7 separate regions of the Homo sapiens genome follow, and regions 1, 2, 3, 4, 6 and 7 are each linked to region 5. Evidence: promoter capture Hi-C in 16 types of primary human blood cells and fetal thymus (Javierre and others, 2016). All regions are on one chromosome and are shown on one strand. Each heading gives the region's core, a stretch centred on a gene start or on the middle of the fragment in contact. The rest is flanking DNA. Distances are from core to core; before and after follow the strand shown.

What was found. The method cuts DNA at HindIII sites, captures the fragments that hold promoters and counts their contacts. A CHiCAGO score of 5 or more calls a contact.
Region 1: a contact is called between a fragment that was not itself captured here and the fragment with the promoter of ATP6V1H in region 5, in 10 of 17 cell types (non-activated CD4 T cells, naive CD8 T cells, naive CD4 T cells and 7 more). The highest score is 12.3, in non-activated CD4 T cells.
Region 2: a contact is called between a fragment that was not itself captured here and the fragment with the promoter of ATP6V1H in region 5, in 1 of 17 cell types (non-activated CD4 T cells). The highest score is 5.6, in non-activated CD4 T cells.
Region 3: a contact is called between a fragment that was not itself captured here and the fragment with the promoter of ATP6V1H in region 5, in 8 of 17 cell types (non-activated CD4 T cells, activated CD4 T cells, fetal thymus and 5 more). The highest score is 12.4, in non-activated CD4 T cells.
Region 4: a contact is called between a fragment that was not itself captured here and the fragment with the promoter of ATP6V1H in region 5, in 1 of 17 cell types (naive CD8 T cells). The highest score is 5.0, in naive CD8 T cells.
Region 6: a fragment that was not itself captured here is called in contact with the fragment with the promoter of ATP6V1H in region 5 in 6 of 17 cell types (naive CD4 T cells, naive CD8 T cells, activated CD4 T cells and 3 more); the score reaches 6.8 in naive CD4 T cells.
Region 7: a contact is called between a fragment that was not itself captured here and the fragment with the promoter of ATP6V1H in region 5, in 15 of 17 cell types (fetal thymus, naive CD8 T cells, total CD4 T cells and 12 more). The highest score is 26.3, in fetal thymus.

Annotation. Positions count from the first base shown.
Region 1 is chr8:52,678,691-52,681,390 of GRCh38, reverse strand. All of the region lies in intron 5 of RB1CC1 (RB1 inducible coiled-coil 1), which reads left to right. Among named protein-coding and RNA genes, the nearest start is that of RB1CC1, 34 kb to the left of the region's middle. The HindIII fragment of the contact is 591 bases long and covers 1,023-1,613 here.
Region 2 is chr8:52,803,866-52,806,565 of GRCh38, reverse strand. No RefSeq gene overlaps it. Among named protein-coding and RNA genes, the nearest start is that of RB1CC1, 91 kb to the right of the region's middle. The HindIII fragment of the contact is 3,510 bases long and covers 1-2,700 here.
Region 3 is chr8:52,702,701-52,705,400 of GRCh38, reverse strand. The region is part of intron 1 of RB1CC1 (RB1 inducible coiled-coil 1); the gene reads left to right. Among named protein-coding and RNA genes, the nearest start is that of RB1CC1, 10 kb to the left of the region's middle. The HindIII fragment of the contact is 8,152 bases long and covers 1-2,700 here.
Region 4 is chr8:52,776,232-52,778,931 of GRCh38, reverse strand. It overlaps LOC105375835 (a long non-coding RNA gene), which reads right to left. Exons shown (of 7, transcript XR_001745898.2): 6 at 2,342-2,486; 7 at 1-2,066. Among named protein-coding and RNA genes, the nearest start is that of RB1CC1, 63 kb to the right of the region's middle. The HindIII fragment of the contact is 1,514 bases long and covers 504-2,017 here.
Region 5 is chr8:53,841,994-53,844,700 of GRCh38, reverse strand. ATP6V1H (ATPase H+ transporting V1 subunit H) reads left to right here and starts at 1,456. Exons shown (of 14, transcript NM_015941.4): 1 at 1,456-1,667. RefSeq lists enhancers at 21-70, 1,368-1,507 and a silencer at 1,148-1,297. The HindIII fragment of the contact is 7,596 bases long and covers 1-2,707 here.
Region 6 is chr8:52,758,697-52,761,396 of GRCh38, reverse strand. All of the region lies in intron 2 of LOC105375835 (a long non-coding RNA gene), which reads right to left. Among named protein-coding and RNA genes, the nearest start is that of RB1CC1, 46 kb to the right of the region's middle. The HindIII fragment of the contact is 4,900 bases long and covers 1-2,700 here.
Region 7 is chr8:52,719,054-52,721,753 of GRCh38, reverse strand. No RefSeq gene overlaps it. Among named protein-coding and RNA genes, the nearest start is that of RB1CC1, 6.0 kb to the right of the region's middle. The HindIII fragment of the contact is 4,259 bases long and covers 1-2,700 here.

The sequences.
Region 1 (2,700 bases), core at 69-2,568, 1.2 Mb after region 5:
ATTTTTGTTTATTGAGATATACTGAAAAATGCACAAACCATAATTGTACATCCATTCTTAGTGAATTTTCACAATGAACACATTGATAAAAATAGTTTCAGGTGTGGTAGCTTATGCCTGTAATCCCAGCACTTTGGGAGGCCAAGGCAGGCGGATCATGAGGTCAGGAGTTTGAGACCAGCCTGACTAATATGGTGAAACCCTGTCTCTACTTAAAAAAAAAATGCAAAAATTAGCCGGGCATGCTGGCATGTGCCTGTAGTCCCAGCTGCTCGGGAGGCTGAGGTAGGAGAATTGCTTGAACCCAGGAGGCAGAGGTTGCAGTGAGCCAAGATCGCACCACTGCACTCCAGCCTGTGTGACAGAGTGAGACTTCATCTCAAAAAAAAAAAAAAACACACACACACACACACACACACACAAAACCCCACAAAAACAAATAGTTTCAACCCAGAAGCCCTACTTAGGACTTTCTCCCCATCAGTTTTCATCCTCCCTGTTCATTAATGCTAACCAGTATCTTGACTTCTAAACCAACATTACTTGGTCTCTTTTTGAATGTAAATAAATGGAATAATGTAGTTTCTGTTCTTTTGTGTCTAGCCTCTTTTACGCAACATGATGTTCCTGAGAATGATTCATGCTGTTGCATGTATCCGTGGTTTGTATTCTTTGCTGCATTGTATTCTATTGTACGAATATGCCACAGTTTTTTTTTAAATCTGTTCTGCTACTAGTAGGTATTGAGATTGTTTCCAGTGTTCAACTATTGTGACTAAACCTGCTGTGAATGTCCTAGTACATTCTTTTGACTACTGTAGTGTAGAGAAATCAGAATACTTTGACAGTGTTAAATCTGTCTTCTCTTCTACTTCTGCAATCTCTTCTGTACCGAAATGTCCATAGTTCTTTCAGATTTCATCTTGAAATGGACTCAGTGCACACTGTCTTTTTTCTTCCATATATTAGCTATCATTTACATGGTAATTCTATTAATTTCACTTGTCTTGGTTGTTAAAGCTTGATTTAGACTTCTCTGTTTTCAGCCGTGTCTTCTTCCAGTGTAGCCTTCAATCAGTGATACGTTTCTTTTTAACTTATTTCCTGAGCTAAATCTCTGTGTTGAGTTCTTTTTTATAAAGCAAAATTAGACCAAGTTCTTAGGAAAAGAATTTGGTTATAATTTCCATTTGCTCTTGGAGAAAGTTTTTCTGCATTTAGTTTTTTTTACTTTTAATTCTTTTTTTCTACACTAAATTAGGGTAATTTAGTGTAGATTTCATGTTAAAATTTTTGCTTGTGTTTGAATGAATAGAATTATTCCTCTATAAGACAGTGTAGGAAAGGGTATAAGATAGCACTTCCTGGTGAGCAGGAAGCTGCCCTGGATCACAGGGGATCCCCAGTTAGAAGCAGAATCTATATGTGTAAGAGAGGGATGGAGATGACTTATTTTGTCCTTCTCCTTGGACAAAATTTAGCAGTTCTAGGGCTTTTTCTCACGTTTTTTCCTTTGGCTTTTTGCAAGTATGTAACATAAATAGGTATTATTTCTTCTGCTACTCTCTAATTTCAGATAGGGCCCCAAGAGGTTCTTGCTGTCCACCCAAGCTTCCCACAAGGAGGATTCAGTTCTCCCAAGTTTTGCTAAATGTCTGCAATAGTGGTGTGAACCTAAATTATCGTGAGACAGGTCACAATCAATTTAGAAAATTTATTTTGTCAAGGTTAAGGACACACCCAAGACATAGCTTCAGGGGGTCCTGGTAACATGTGCCCAAGGTGGTCAGGGTACAGTTTGCTTTTATACATTTTAGGGAGACATGAGACATGATTATGTGTAAGAAGTACATTGGTTTGGTTCAGAAGGGCAGGATAACTCGAAGCGGGGTCTTTCGAGTCCTTGATCAGCCTTTCACTCAATACATAATTTAGTCTGGCTCAGTGCATCTGCATTTTTACATAAACAATAAACAGTAAGACAGAGGAAGCAGATAGGCCTTTGTTTCAGGTCAGCAGAGGTGTGACTTTCTGTCCCGCACATATGAAGATATGCTGTCAGTTTACATTGTGAAGGTGAAATTCAGCAGAACTGTTTTAGGTTAAAGATCTTGAAGCCTACAAGAAATTTCCCTGTGGCAAAATTGTGAGGGAGGTATGTAGCTTTCTTATCTTTGTAGCTATCTTATTTAGGAATAAAATTGGAGGCAGGTTTGCCTGACATAGTTCCCAGCTTGATTTTTCCATTGGCTTAGTGATTTTGGGTTCCCGAGATTTGTTATTCTTTCACAGTGGGTGCCCTTTTTATTTGACCCAAGTTGATCAGTTTTCATATTCTTCACAGGTTTGCTGCATATATTGTATGTGTGGGGTGGTAGTTGTTTCCTGGTTTCATCAAGATGGTGTCTTGTTTCCCTTTTGTATTTGGTTGGTTTCATGAAGGAGAAGCAGGCAAAGACATCTTTACTTCATTATCTTACAACTGAAACTATTAGCCCTTTCTTATACACATATGGAATTAAGAACAGGTGAAGATAAGTCATTTCTTCAAGGCCAGATAGCCAGGGAGAAGAAGAACCTCTTTTCTCCAAGGCCAGTGCTCTTTACATTCATATCATTGTACTTCCAGAAAGTAAACTTTCATATTTTACCTGTAAAGATATTTCTTTTCACCTAAATTTGTTCATTAACAATATTATC
Region 2 (2,700 bases), core at 62-2,561, 1.0 Mb after region 5:
AGCCAGTTCACTTCAAGGACAGTTATAAGATAACACTATCTGAAAAGCTGAGGCCAAAGGAATATTCTCCAGACAGCCCCCTCTGGAGCAAAGTTGAAAAGAAAAACAAATTCCTTTACTGTCTCTCCTTCTCTGAACTAATAATTATGACCGCGTTTTACAAATGTCTGTATTTAGCCAGTTTCTGTTTTTATTTTGATGCAACTGCAAGTCCACTAGCTATGCAAGGCCACAAGTTATGCTAAGGCAACAGTTATGCTATAGATTACATGATCTGTCACTGTATGATTGATTGCTTTTGTTCTGCTTCTGTAAATTTGCTTATAAAAACCCCACTCAGTCTTTGTTCAATGCTCAGCTTTTCAGATATGAATCCACTGATCTGGTGTACACCCAAATAAATCCTCCTGTTCCCCATATCAGTCTCTCTAGTCCTCTGTCTCCTACAACAGTACTACTCTTAATCTAGTCTACTAAAATAAAAATATTTTAAGTATTTTATTCTTCTTTCATATTCAGTTTTTTCATCTGATTTTTTCCTTTTTGGAAATGCATCATTTATTTACCATTATCCTTGTTTCAGGCCCTTTTCTCTGTCAGATTGTATGATTCGAATAGCTTCCTAGCAAGTTCACCCTGGTTCCAACTGCATTCGATGTGCCAGAAATAATTCTACAGTTCTACTGTCTGGATGGCACTTCTCTGACCCCAGGATGAATTCCCTTACTTATCGAATTAATTCCAAACTACTCCACTTGACTTTGAAGAGTCTTCACAACTGCCACCCTACCCTTCTATCCATTATTCTCACTGGATTTTAGCTTCCCTCTCTGATCTGCCAAGAAACGCTAATCACTGTTTTAAGCATATACCATACTAAATCTCATCTTCATGCCATTGTTCACTGTAATCCATTGCTTAGGGAGCTGCCTTTTCCTAAAGGATCAGGTTGAGTTGCTCCTCCATTAAGCTCCTTATGGTCATTATAAGTGTATTTGAACCTTTTAGAACCCTGAAGGTAATTTACACAATAGGTCACAGAATTACACCCTAATTATTCCTATATTCTAATTTGAATATTAACTTTATATTTTTTCATAAATTTTTAAGTTCTTAGAGACAAGACTGGTTTTTAATGATGCAAGATAAATATGCAAAGAAAATAACTTTCTGATATAGCAGCAATAACAAATTATAAAATTTAATAAGAATGGCCAAGAGAGGTGACTCATGCCTGTAATCCCAGCACTTTGGGAGGCCAAGGCAGGTGGATTGCTTGAGGCCAGGAGCTTGAGACCAGCCTGGCCAACATGGTGAAACCTCGTCTCTACTAAAAATACAAAAATTAGCTGGGCATGGTGGCACACTCCTGTAATCCCAGCTATTTGGGAGGCTGAGGCAGGAGAATTGCTTGAACCCAGGAGGTGGAGGCTGCAGTGAACTGAGACTGCGCCACTCCACTCCAGCCTGGCAACAGAGTGAGACTCTGTACCATCCCCCCAAAAAAAAGTAAAAAGGAAAAGATCCCATTTATAATATCAAAATGATGGTATAGATACGAAGGTAAATGGAAAGAAAAATATGCATCAGAGAAAAACAGAAAAAAAAGGAGAGACATGACATAGTTATTGTGGGAGACTTAATACTCTAAAAGGTCAATATCCCCCAAATTAATCTATTAGTATAAAATAACCTTTAAATATTCCATATTTTGACAAGCTATCTCTACCCCATTTAGGAAATAAATAATAAAAATTACCTAAATACTTTTAGAAAAAAATATAATATAGATTAACTTGCTCAAGCAGATAAAGCATTTTATCATTTTTTGGTAATTAAAACTGTGGTCTTGACATAACAATAGGAAAAATAAGAACAATGAGTCAAGAAGCAGAATTAATTAGGCATAATAATTTTTTTAATATAAGAAAATATCAGTTTAAATTTGATAAAAATGGGCTGCTCAATGTATGGCTGACAGCCTTATCTCCTAACTCTCATACTGAATACAAAAAGAACTATCAAGCAGATGAAAATTAGACTAAACCTTAGAAAATAAAACTAATAATTCCACTTTCTGAAATTTTGGTAATAGCAAAACAATTTAAAAATGACTGCATATTGATCATGGTAGAAGTACTTAAATAAATTATAGGATAAACACTATGCAATACCATTTAGCCACTAAAAGGAGTAAGGCAGACTTATCTGTACTGACATTTTACATTTCCAAGAAAGTAAAAAGAATAAGGCAGACTTATTTGTACTGACATTTAAAGTTTCAAAGACATCCTGTTGCATGGAAAAAGCAAGCAAAATAAGCAAACCTGTACTTGGATATCATTTATGGCTTTATAATGAGATCTACAGACGTGTGTAAATGCGTAGAGAAAGAGCTAGAATGCTGAGTGCTAAGCAGTGAATGTGGTTGCCCAGGCAGGCAAGGTAGGAGTGTGTGTGCAGTGAGGGGTTGGACAAGGAAAGTAGACCTTCATGTTTCACTGCAAGTTCTTCGGTATAGTCTAAACCTATGACATGGTAAAAAAGAGAAATACGTTTAATTAATTCATACCAAAGAACTTACAGGAAAATGGTACCATTGTCTGTTAGTAGACATGACATACCCAAACACACAAATCTTTAAAAGGAAAATACTGACAGATTAGATCATATAAAAATGTAAAATCTCTCTAGGTCGAA
Region 3 (2,700 bases), core at 198-2,697, 1.1 Mb after region 5:
CTTGTTGATGTTTTAGTTCTCATTAGTGAATATGTACCTCCAGATAGTTTATTTTTCTTCATGCTATGGATAGCCATTTGTCATAATACCATTGCATGAAAAGTTGATCCTTTCTCCCCAATTTGAAATCCCACCATTATTGTATAGATACACAAGTGCAGGTATGCATGTATAAAGATCAATTTGGATCTGTTCAGTTTCATGCATTATGTTTATTAATGCATCATGATTCCTACTAACTTGTTAACTACCGTGTGAGTTATGAGTATGTTTGACATGTTTTGACAGTTGTTCTGTCCTACGAAGTCTCAGTATATATGGTAGGCAGTTTATAGTAATTCTTAGTGGGTAGAAACTAAAGACTGTTTAAGCAGAGGGTCAAATAATTTAAGAAAATCTTGTGTCAGTTGTTGAGTTACTAACCTGTTACTTTTAATTTAGAATTGGCTTGTGTTAACTTGTATAGTATTAAATATGGTTTCATTTTATAAAAGTTAAGAAGGACTTTATATAAAATGAGCATCAAGTCAGATTTTAGGAAATCGTGACTATTTGGTGAAAAGTAATACTTATGTACTAGGCTTATTTATATAAGGCTTATAAAGTTACTTTATAATTCCTTGAATAGCAGTTGATTTCTGTGCTTGTACCTTACTTAACAATTACATGCAATAACTTTAGTTCTAGATCATAGAGAGTCAACCCACTTACAGGATTTAATGGACTTTACGTAAATTAGGGGTACATGTACATAATAAGCATTCCCAAAGTTGCAAGTTAATAAAAGAATTAGCTCCTTTTAATGATTGTTTTCTTAAAAGAAATCATTGGTTTATTAAGTTTATCCTCTTAAGTTTTAGTAATGTGATCAGTGAGGGTAAACTGTCAGTTTCTAGTTGGAACTTGATTTTACATATACTTTTGTGTTTTTTTTTTTTTTTTTTTAATGTCACCTTTGTGTGAATTCTTGTCCATTCTTTCTCAGTCTAACTTTTGCATACCTCTCTTCATATTAGTATTATTGAACTTTTTGGAAGGCAGGTAATGTGCTTTTTATTACTTTTTGGCACTAACACACAATAAGTTTCTTAAAATTAGTATTTGTTCAGTGTGTTAGACTCATGTTTAATGTATGATTTGACTATTTATAGAAGATCAGAAGAATAATCTAGTGTACCCCTTTATGTTTTAAGATGACGAAACTGAGATTCAGAGAAATTGGATAACTCCTGAAATCACAGGAGTAAAGATGTGAAGCTAGGACTAAAAACCAGATCTCTTATTTCTTTCCAAGTATTTTTTATTTCAGGGTGACCAAATATGTACTTGGTTACTGATGTCCCTTTTTGCTGAATGTTTTTTAACAATTGTGGCATACAAAGGAGAGAATTCAGTTTCATGGGATCATGTTATTTTGATAGCATATAGGAGTATGTAACATAAAGTATACAGTCTTGTGAATAAATAGCGACAGTGTTCCTGTGGATTCTCTCTGAGCAACTTTCTGATTTCAGTTTTGGTTGCCGTAGTCCTTATCCATGGTTTTGACCGCAAACATTTATTGACTGTTTACTGTCTCTAGGTAGTATGTTAGGTATTGAGGTATGATATGTCATGACCAAAATTTTTTTTAGCCATTTGCAATACAGCTTGGGCGATGTAAGTTATTTGGCAAGTGGCAAAAAAGTGTAGCAGGGCATTTATTTATGTTCTGAATACCAACACTTACTTGAATAGTTGGAATTTGAAGTATGGGCTGTCAGTACTTCAGGAACAAGACCACTGACAGCCAGTACATTGAGGAAGACTTTACGACAGAATATTTGTGAATTCTTGGTTACATAATGGAAGCTGTGGAATGACATGAGTAGAGGCATGAAAATCCATTTATTCATGCACCTCATTTCAGGAGATCAGCCTAAATGGTATGGAGCTTCATGTAGGGACCCAAATAAAGGAAATAGTGGAGTGTCAGTCTAAGGAATTTATACTTGAGTAGAAGTTATGAAGCATTTTTAGTTTGGGGAGAAGTAAACATTAAAAGAATCTAAGATTATGTAGTTGGTGGTGTCATCTGAGATGGAATCTGCAGATAGTAGGTGCTCAGATAGGTAATTGTTAGAGCCCGATATGCAGTAGGAAGATCTGAATTAGATAGCTTAATGGGAATAAGGTGGAAGAGAGGATACACATACTTAGTAACTGTTTATGTGGAACCAAGGAGTACTTATTCATATATGATGTTAAAATATATTAAACCAAGTTGATTACTTTTTTTTTTTTAATATAAGATACTGGGAACACATTGGCTGATAAAGAAACTGCTGAAAATTAGCTACCTGCATGTGATCTCTCTCTGTTACTAAGTTACTATTTGGATTCTGCTTTGTCATTTGCTTAGAGTACTGCTACTAGAACCCCAAGAGTACATTTGCTTATGAAACCCTGTTTATTCAACAGATGCTTTTGAGTGCTTTGTGTTATGTCACAGAGTTACTTCCTGTCCCTAGAGAACATTTTGGGAATATTTACTGTGATTTCTTTTTTTTTTCTGCAACAGCCATATGAGGTAGGTATGATAAATATCCCCATTTACAGATTAGAGAATGGAAATTTAGACAGACATGTATTGATGAAGAAAGTTGTTTTCTTGTTTTATCTACATTTTTTTCTTCTTCTTTTCTTTTTTTTTGAGTCTCA
Region 4 (2,700 bases), core at 11-2,510, 1.1 Mb after region 5:
GAGTCTAAAAGTTAAAGAAAAATATGTCCTAGCCTTAACAGTCTGTGATTAAAACTGAAGTCAATGTCCAAAGTGCAGTAGTTCCTCTGCTTCCCATCTGTTTCACTAGCAAGAGAGAATCTCCTAATAGTTTTAAGAATCCCCCTAGCTTTCAACCCTCAGTACCACAAATGTTACCAACGTTTGTTCAAGAGTTGGTCCTCTGTGTGGCTTGCCTGTTGCCCATAGGGAGAGCCGGACTCGACACTCCCCTGTAGGTAGACTCTTCAACCAGTCTGCCAGTACCCCAGTGAAGGGCCTGCTTCCACAGCACCGCCATCAGGCTGCCAGCTATGTCTGCACGAAAGCCATGGGGGGACAGCGGAGATCAGATCAGATCAACGGCTCCTCTTGACCCATGGTGGTTCACGCACCATTGTTGTCTTGAACTCCTATGCTATCTGTGGCTGCTTTCTGAATACCCAGCAGGTCATAGATCTAAAGTCCCATCTGAGCCAGAAGCTTCATGGCCTATTCACTGGCACTAGAGCAGCAGATGCAGTTTTATGCAAACTCATCCATTTTGAGTTCTTCTGAAAAGTACAAAAGAAGATACCAGGCTGGGCTTAGTGGCTCACCCCTGTAATCCTAGCACTTTCAGAGGCCAAGGCGAGTGGATCACTTGAGGCCAGGAGTTTGAGACCAGCCTGGGTAACATGGTGAAACCCCATCTCTGTAAAAAATACAAAAATTAGCCAGGTGTAATGGTGTGCACCTGCAGTCCCAGCTCCTCTGGAGGCTGAGGTGGGAGGATCTCTTGAGCCCAGGAGGCGGACGCTGCAGTGATCCATGATTGCACCACTGCACTCCAGCCTGGGCGACAGAGTGAGACACTATTTCAAAAAAAAAAAAAGGAAAATACCTTACTTTGATGTCACCATGCTTGATCAGTGACATGGCCCAGAAAAACTGCCTGGAACTCAAGACTAAGGTGATCAAAGCCCTTTTATTCCCACTTGTAGCCATTCTCGTGGTAGCCACATACTAGCCCAGAAGTTTCCTCCAGAGATCTAAGCCCCTCCATTTACAGGAGGGATGCCAGTGCCATGCATTCACTACACCCTGGAGAGGAGTTTGGGGCCTAAAAAGGGTCAGGTAGATGTTTTCCACTATGGAGAAGACCCCTGACCTCCAAAGCAGATTTCATAAGCTGCCTCATTTGAGGCCTAATTCCCAAACTCAAATGATGAAGAAACAGTAGTCCTACATTTAAAAACTACCATTCAGAAGAAAAGAAAAATCATTCAGTAATGCAGGAGAGTGCAGGAATTAACTGGCTTGAGTGAAGCATAGCACAGTGCTGGCACATAACAAGTTCTTGTTCACTAGTCCTTGTAATAATGGTGAGTATCAATGCATCATTGAGAGTAAAACTCATCTTCCCAAAGGAGAGCAAGAGATTTCCGTGACAACTGCTCAGGAGGAATCGCTGGACCCATTCTCTTCTCTGCCTTGTAGAACACTGAGGTTGGTACACAAAGATGTGTGGATTAAAGCTGTGGTTTCTGCCATAAACTCTCTTCCCCAGGTTAAAAGAGGGGAAAAGATCACCACATTGACCAGCACATCATGCACTGATTTCATGCACTTGCCTGGTAAAGGGAGACACACCACTGACTAGTTCCCTAGGGGAAGAAGTCCGTGGGTGTGTATGGGGAGTTATGTACTAGAGAGTGGGTAGGTAAGTAACTGTATCTACACAAATTATGGAGTGAAGTTGCTCCCTGGATAGAATGAGTCTGAATAGCACTGGGGCAGGCTCACAATGAATTCCATTTCTTGCTTCGATATTGAAAACAGAGTAACAATAAGTTGTGTCTGGGCAAAGGACATATGGGAAAAGAAAGTGATCAACTTTCACTTTATAAGGAAAATTAACACATAAAGTTCTTAAATAATTTTCAGTCAAATAAATTCTTATGTGACTTTGGGGCTTCAGAGATGCTGGTAAAAAGTCAAGACCGTGAAGACCAAAGCTTTCCATGCTGGGCAGTTGCCCCGGGCAGTTTGCCTTAGGTGGAGGGAACCTGGAATGGAGGAGCAGGAGAACAGGTTAAGGGGCAGACAGGCAGACCCTGAGGGGAAGGGGGGCTTATTCTGTGCCCACCAGAGACCCCCAGAAGGAATGTGTCATGAGCTGGTGGCTTCTGAAAAGGTTCTTCTGAGGTTGAACTGGGGATGCACTGGACAACCTTGAGGCTGAAGATGGGGTCTATTTTGAATCATGAAATCAGCTAATTTCAACATACATGAGGTGTTTGGTACACAAAGAACTATGACGGATGTCAGCTGATGGATTCACCTTAGTCCACTTCTGAGTAGAAAGGCCTGTTCATGCCTCCTTTGTATGCAGAGAGTAGCCCTGGAAGTTTGTAGATCCACAGATGTCTTCGAGGCATTTTCCAGATAATAAAATATGATTGTAGCTCAAATGCACTAAAATCAACCTATAAGAAAAATCAAGAAAACAGACTTGGTGATAGTAATAATTTTTAGTGACCACTGGTAATTTATAAAACTATGTAATTTGTCATTAGCTACAAGAACTAATTAGATTAAGCACTGGTTTAGAGGACTTACTATGGGTCCTTCAGAGTAAACTCTTTGTAACAACATACTTTCCATACATGCTTATCTAATTATGTGCTAAAAAGATTCTAA
Region 5 (2,707 bases), core at 207-2,706:
TCACTGCACTGTTCCTGATTTTGTTCCATAACTTTGTGCCTCTAGGAAAAGAGGAGAGCCTCCCGAAATCTGATGAGACTCGCTGTATCACGCCAGTCTGTGGCTTAGGTGATACAGAAAGGAAATGCGAAGATCAGGCCTCACTGCCAGCTTTGCTCAGTTACACAGAAAACATGCTGTTTCAGCTTTTGGGAGTTTCTTAGTACACGATCGGTTTCTTTTTCTCTTTTATGAAAGTTTTTCCCCTTAGATTTGCTTTCAAAACAACAGACTTTCACTTCTGGCTAAGACAGAATGAGTGACCTAGTACAATCTTTGACACTGTTATTATATATCTTTATTCATAATCAATGCATGATTTTGATTATTCTGACTTTAATTTTACGAGTAAAAATGGGTTGGTTATAAATCCCTTTCAAAGAATTTTTTTTTTTTCTTTTTGAGACGGAGTTTTGCTTTTTCTGCCCAGGCTGGAGTACAATGGTGCGGTCTTGGCTCACTGCAACCTCTGCCTCCTGGGTTCAAGTGATTTTCCTACCTCAGCCTCCCAAGCAGCTGGGATTACAGGCATGCGCCACCACACCCAGCTAATTTTTTGTATTTTTAGTAGAGATGGGGTTTCACCATGTTGGTCAGCTGGTCTCGAACTCCAGACCTCAGGTGATCCACTGGCCTCGGCCTCCCAAAGTGCTGGGATTACAGGAGTGAGCCACCGCGCCCGGCCCCTTTCATTGCTTTTTAAGGAAAACATGCTATCATATATACTTCACCTCCAGGGCAGTACATTCTTACTTTAAGGCAAAGACAGTTGCTGAGGCCTGGACTAGGGGAAAATTTGGGCTCCAGATGGGACTGTTGGATAAAATACCAGACGTCCTGTAAATGTGAATTTTAGATAAACAACGAATAACTTTTTAGTATAAAAGTAAATACTGCAATGGAATTTATTATTTGCTAAATGTGCAACCCTAGGTTAAGAGAGCTTTTCAGACCCACTTCTCAGCCCGAGTTTTCTATTTAAAATCAGAATAAGAACGCCTGCTTCATGGAGCTGTTAAATCCAAATGGAAATTAATTTGAAAGCGCGAAATCAAACTTTTCAAAAGAATGACGGTTACAATAAGAGCGTTTTGGCCTCTGCTAGCTGCTTCCGGGCGGAGGTCCTCGGCCTCCCCTAGGCGAGGCACTAGGTCTGGGGGCGGCGGGTCTTAGCGTGCCCGCCACGCTCGCCGCCTCCCACCTGCCCTGGCTGGCTGGGGCCCGACCCTTGCGTCGCTCCGGGGCCCAAGTTACGGACTCGGGAATCCAGTTGTCCGCACCGAACAAGCCCCGCCGCAGCGCCCGCCCCTCCTCTTGCTGCTTTGGAGTCTCCCGGCTTCCGCCTTCCGCAGCAGTCACGTGCCTCCGATCACGTGACCGGCGCCTCTGTCATTCTACTGCGGCCGCCCTGGCTTCCTTCTACCTGTGCGGCCCTCAACGTCTCCTTGGTGCGGGACCCGCTTCACTTTCGGCTCCCGGAGTCTCCCTCCACTGCTCAGACCTCTGGACCTGACAGGAGACGCCTACTTGGCTCTGACGCGGCGCCCCAGCCCGGCTGTGTCCCCGGCGCCCCGGACCACCCTCCCTGCCGGCTTTGGGTGCGTTGTGGGGTCCCGAGGATTCGCGAGGTAAGGCCGCCCTCGCGTTGTTTGGTCTCAGGCTGCAGACCAGGTCAGGCGACTCTTGCAGTTTCTCCAGCTTGCCTGGTGCGTGCTGGTGTCTCGCCGCTTGGTCCTCTCCTGTTCTTCGGCCCCCGGTTGCCAGATTGCTTTTCTTCCAGGCCTCAACCAGGTTTATTAAGCGAAATTCTGGAGCCTTTCTCGCAGGGGGAAGAAACGTCAGGGGCGGGCAGGAGAGTGGAGGGGGAGGGGTAAAAAGTATACCTTCTCCAGGACTGGGCCACGGCCCTGGATCGCTGGGGGTGCGAGTAGTTCAGGGACTTAGGTAATTGTCTAGAGACACCTTGAGCTACGCCAGGACGGGCCGCTGAGGCTGAGCCTCCTTGGCTGCAGAGTTCCAGCCTGGCCCAGTTGAAGCCTGTTTTTTCCTGGGCCCTGTCGTTCGCGCTGCCCAGGGTTGTTTATACAGCAAATCTTCAGATACAGAGATTAAGTTCCAAATTGATTAAGATCGTTGGAAACCCGGAATATAATTTTGGGTAGGATTTTAACTTCTTTGTGGCCATGGCCGTGAATTTATGTTTTGCAAGTGGCAACCTGTATTTTGCTTTGTGTTAAAATCAGTCGTTTGTATCTGGAAGTTTAGGAGTGAGAATTACATAGAATTTCATTATTGTAGGTTCTTGTCGTCCAGCCAGACCGCCATTGTTGGCTTACCTAAATTGTAATATGTATTTGTTCTAAAACTTTCTCTCCGAATTTTGATTTTGCAAATACTATGAATTTTGTTTGAAAAGGAAAGCACTGTCTTCTAAGAAATTATGTTCCCACTTTGTGTATTTTAATTTGAGTAATTTTCGAAAGGACTTAGAATTTTTAATGTGCCACTTCAAAATGATGCTTAGTAAATGTTTATAAAACTAGCCTTATCCGTACTATTCATATTCTTATTGTTTCTCTATGAGAAAAGTTAACCACAATTGTATAAATTTACAATTTTTCCCATATTTATACCTATTCTATTTAATCATGATTTCTGATTTCAGTAT
Region 6 (2,700 bases), core at 33-2,532, 1.1 Mb after region 5:
TAATCCCAGCTACTCAGGAGGCTGAGACAGAAGAATCGCTTGAACCCAGGGGGTGGAGGTTGCAGTGAGTGGAGATGACGCCACTGCACTCCAGCCTGGGCGACAGAGTGTGACTCCATCTCTAAAAAAAAAGATAGCAGGATCCAAATTATTTTTGACTAAATTACAACCTGTCACATGGCTAAACTTTGTTTCCCCCTGTAAATAATCCAAGGAAAGAAAAAAAATTTGGAGTAAAGCAGTTTCCATAGCAGTCTGATTTTTTAAAAGCTCTTTTACCTTTTCTTCTGCAGTTTCATAGGAGTTTCCAATGTTTACATTTTAGCTGGAACTGGCTGAATTTAATAAGAAAAATAAAATGTCCATGTAGCGTTGAATTAGCAAAACCATAAACAATGAGTTTTATCTCAACACAAGTAGCTTAATAACGGTAGATTCAAAGCAGGCAAAAAAGAAAAGAGAGAAATAGAGAAATCTAGAAGACTCTACTTAACTGTATAGTTGCAGGTTAATCATTTGAGCTTTGAATTTTTTTCTTGCTGTAATTTGCCCATCAGTTAAAAACTGTGTGCAAGGATGGGCCTGCATCCAGCTGGAGTCCTAGAAAATCTGTTGTGGCTTTGAACTTTTTCATCTTTTTAAATGTGTAAGCCACAGGAAATTCTACCCTTCTTTCCTTTCCTGCTCTAACAATTTCTCAGTAGCCGACCTTACCACATGGCATATTTGCTGTCCATATCATATTTTAACATCTTAGTTTTTTGTAATAGGTACTCAGTCCCCAGTGGTGTTGTCTGAGCATCCCTGTCCCCACACAGTGGCCCACAAAGGTTGAGCAGTGGGGTAACTCCACTCCACATTTATGCCTCTGACTACCCTGTGATTCCCCCAACAGATGCTCCTTCCTGATTCATCATTTGGTCTCTTAGATCCTAGGTTAGTGACACCAGTTGTTATGAGAAAAATCTGTAATGTCCCTTCCCAAACTGGGAAGGAGCCAAGAGACAAAAAGAATGATTTGAGTAAGTCCAGCTTGGCGAGTAGATGAATTGATTAGGACTTACATACAGTGCACTCCTGAGTGGCAGCAGGACATTTTTAGAAATCCATGTCACCATCCATCTCCAAGCTACTTTCAAGCTAATGATCTGGCTCTTTGGCTACTGCCTATGTGTGATGAGACTGTTTTCCTTGGAATGTTCCTACCTATGCCCGGGGATGTTTGGGTTCTCAGGGGCACCTGAACCTCAACTGGACACCCTGGCCTTGGTTCACTGCTTGGCCTTCAGCGAGTAAGCAGCGGACATCCACCCTTAAGTAATCAAGGTGGGGGACCTGTCACATTACAGGCAGTTGTATAGGGCAGATATCTACATCAACAACCTTGAGGAAATGGGAGGATATGGAGAGCTGGAAACTATTATTATGTTAAGGGCAACTAAGCCTTGCTTTTTGTATGAGGAAGTCCAACTTATATTCAAAATGCTTGCTAAGGCAGCACAAAATTACAATAATTCACTACAGCTTTATAGAACTAGAATCACTCCATTTACTAATGTGACCATAACTCTTATGGGAAACAATACATCTATCCATACAGATTTTATTTACAAACTATGGTGAATAATATTCTTTATACTTTTTCTATTTAAAAATATATAGTTCCCATGATAGGATGAAACTATAATTTGAATCATGTTAGCTATTATACTATCCCCTTGAAATGTCTAGAAATCTTATCATACATCAAAATCAACCTCACTTGCAAGAGCTACTATAGCTCCAAGAACAAGGAGAGTGACTGACATGTCTTAGCTGCTGTTGTAATATGAGAAAAACATGGAATATAGAATTCTGAAAGAAGACATGTATTTAGGAGACTGCCAGATTTAGACTACATGATGTCAAATATCCAGGAAAAAGCAGAAAATTTCCCTTAGATTGCTGTTTGCTTACAGATATCTGGAGATTTCACATGATGTAGACATAGCATTGTAAACAACTGCCTACATTCAACACCATTTATCCAAAAACTATATACTACTTGGAAACAGCCAAAACTCTGTACTATGAAGATACAAAGTGAGCTAAATACCTCCTTTGAGGCTTGTGCCAAACACAAATCTGACACCTGGCCTCTTCAACCATCACTCAACATTCAGTCATGTTTAACACACAATAGTTTCTTTTAGATTGGTCCGAATTGCCTAGAGCTTAGGACTAGTTCTAGGGATATGGAAAGAAAATAAAGTTTTAAACTTCCAAATGTAAAAATAAGATATTTCTTTTGTATTGCTGTTCAAATATTTAAATTATTTTTATTGATACATAGTATTTATACATATTTATAGGGTCCATGTGACATTTTGTTACATGCATAGAATATGTAATGATCAAGTCAGAGTGTTTAGGATATCTTTCACCTCGACCATTGATCATTTCTGTGTGCTGGGAGCATTTTAAACCTCTCTTCTAGCTATTGTGAAATATACAACACGTTGTTAATTATAGTAACCCTACTCTTCTATTGAACACTGTAACTTACTTATTTCTTCTATCTAACTGTATTTTTTGCACCCATTAACCAACCTCTCCTCATACCCCTGCACCTCCCAATGCACACCCATCCATCCCAGTCTATGGTAACTATCATTCTATTCTCTACCTCCATGAGTTCAACTTTTTTTTAGCCCCCCACTG
Region 7 (2,700 bases), core at 30-2,529, 1.1 Mb after region 5:
GGCGTGAGCCACCGCGCCTGGTCTATATTTTTACTTTTATTTTTGTAGAGACAGGGTTTCGCTATGTTGTCCAAGCTGGTCTCAAACTCCTGGCCTCAAGTGATTCTCCTACCTCAGCCTACCAGAGTGCTGAGATTACAGGTGTGAGCCACCATGCCAGGCCTGTTTTAAATATTCTTCTAAAATATAATATTAATGGCTGCATAGTATTTCATTATATAGATGTACCACGTTTTCCCTGAATTCTGAGAAAGGGGTTGATTTTGTCCCTCTGGGAACATTACAAAATGTCCAGAGGCATTTTTGATTGTCATAACTGGGGTGCTACTGGCATCTAGTGGGCAGAAGCCAAGGAGGTTCAACATCCTAAAATGTACAGGACAGCCCCTTATAACAAAGAATTAACTGGTAGGTATGAGATTGAGAAACTCTGTAACCTATTGCTAGACATTTTTTCTTTTTTTGTTTTTGAGACAGGGTCTCACCCTGTTGCCCAGGCTGGAATGCAGCAGTGCAATCTTAGCTCACTGCAACCTCTGCCTCCCAGGCTCAAGCAATCTTCCCACCTCAGCTTCCCAAGTGGCTGGAACTACAGGCGTATGCCACCACATGCCTGGCTAATTTTTTTTTTTTTTTGTATTCTTGGTAGAGATGGGGTTTTGCCACATTGTCCAGGCAGGTCTAGAACTTCTGAACTCAGGGCTATCCACCTGCCTTGGCCTCCCCAAGTGCTGGGATTACTGGTGTAAGCTGGGAGCCACCTTGCTGAGCCAATTTTTTTTAACCCCTGCAGGACCAGCACCAAATTAAGGGGGAGCATAGGCTATGCATAGGATATATAGGATATAGCCCGTACAATTGGATTACCTGGGTTCAAATCCTGGCCTTGACAGTTACTAATTTAAGAACACTAACTAGAAGGAAGTACATTGAATTAGCAACTTAACCACTCCATGCCTTATTGCCCCATCTGTAAAATCAAAGAAAATTTACAGAAACTGCATAGGGCTGCTAAGACAACTAAACAGGTTGATAAATTTAAAACCCATGTCTGGCATCTAAGATACACCCATAAGTGTTTCATGAGCTCCGTTAGGTCATGCTTTTTAAAAAATACATTTATTGACCAGCCGCGGTGGCTCACGCCTGTAATCCCAGCACTTTGGGAGGCCAAGGAGGGCAGATCACCTGAGGTCAGGAGTTCGAGACCAGCCTGACCAACATGGAGAAACCCCGTCTCTACTAAAAATACAAAATTAGCCAGGTGTGGTGGTGCATGCCTGTAATCCCAGCTACTCGGGAGGCTGAGGCAGGAAAATCACTTGAACCCGGGAGGCAGAGGTTGCAGTGAGCTGAGATTGCGCCATTGCACTCCAGCCTCCGCAACGAGAGTGAAACTCCCATCTCAAAAAAAAAAAAAAAGAAGCATTTATTTATAAACACTACTGAGGCACTGACAGAAATAGGAAGGCACTGACAGAAAAATCAGGAACAAAGAATCTCAAGGTTTGGGGCCTAAGTCATTGAATCTAATATCTCTGAAACCATTGGATGATAGTAAAATCGATGTAATGTGTAAGACTAGCAAGAGGAAAAAAAAACAATAGAAGGTATCAGAGTATATCACAAGCAGCAAGTACTTTTTCCTGTGTATGTATACCAGGTCACAATGTGAAACTGTATTTCTTAATGTGGATCACAGTAAAAGTTAGAAAGTCACCACCTGAAGTCCAACTACCACTTGACATTTGAATCAGTTCTGTATCTGTGTCTACATGACTGATTAACTTCTGCCTTAAGGCATTTTATAAACAGTGCCAGCTCTATTTTTGGACACTTTGCTAGGCAGCTCTTCAAAATAATGAAAGACAAGAACCTAATAAAACATGATGCAAAAAGATATCTCTTTCAATCTGAAAAATGACTACAAATGTTTTGTCTTAATCTATTGGTTTAAATCTTTCAGGAAATTAAGCATTCTAGAAGTGTTTTCTTGACTATGTTGCTGCAGCATTGGAAACAGTGTTGCTTATGAGCTCATCAAGTCATCACTAGCTTTGAAGATGGTCATTCCTAAGTTAGCCATCATCATTATTAGTATGTTTGAGTACCCACAAACCAGCTGAGAAGGGCAGCTTTCAGGTCTATAAGCAGTACTGAAAACATTAACTTAATCATCATAGTGCCAGCAGCCTCTAAATAGTACATAATCATATACACCAAATTAGTTATGGTTTTAAAAACAAAGTCCAAAACGTACATCTTTTTAACCCTTTTAAAAATGAACAATAATTGTGCCTCATACTTTGAATAAAGCCAAATTATGTGAATTGTGGTTGCTGGTTGTTTGAACATTGCCTAAAAGAAAATTAGGGTAATGACACTAAGTTGTTTGAGAAATATTTAATACATGTGCTGAATGCCTCAGGCAGAGTTGACAAAATTAAGATGTTTACCATGATCTTCCCAATAAACTGAATGTACTTTGGTAAAGAATTAATATCATATAAATTTGTTACTGCAATTATATTTATTTTTTTTTTCTTTTTTTGAGACGGAGTTTCGCTCTTGTTGCCCAGGCTGGAATGCAATGGTGCGATCTCGGCTCACTGCGACCTCCGCCTCCTGGGTTCAAGTGATTCTCCTGTCTCAGCCTACTGAGTATCTGGGATTACAGGCATGCGCCACTGGCTAATGTTG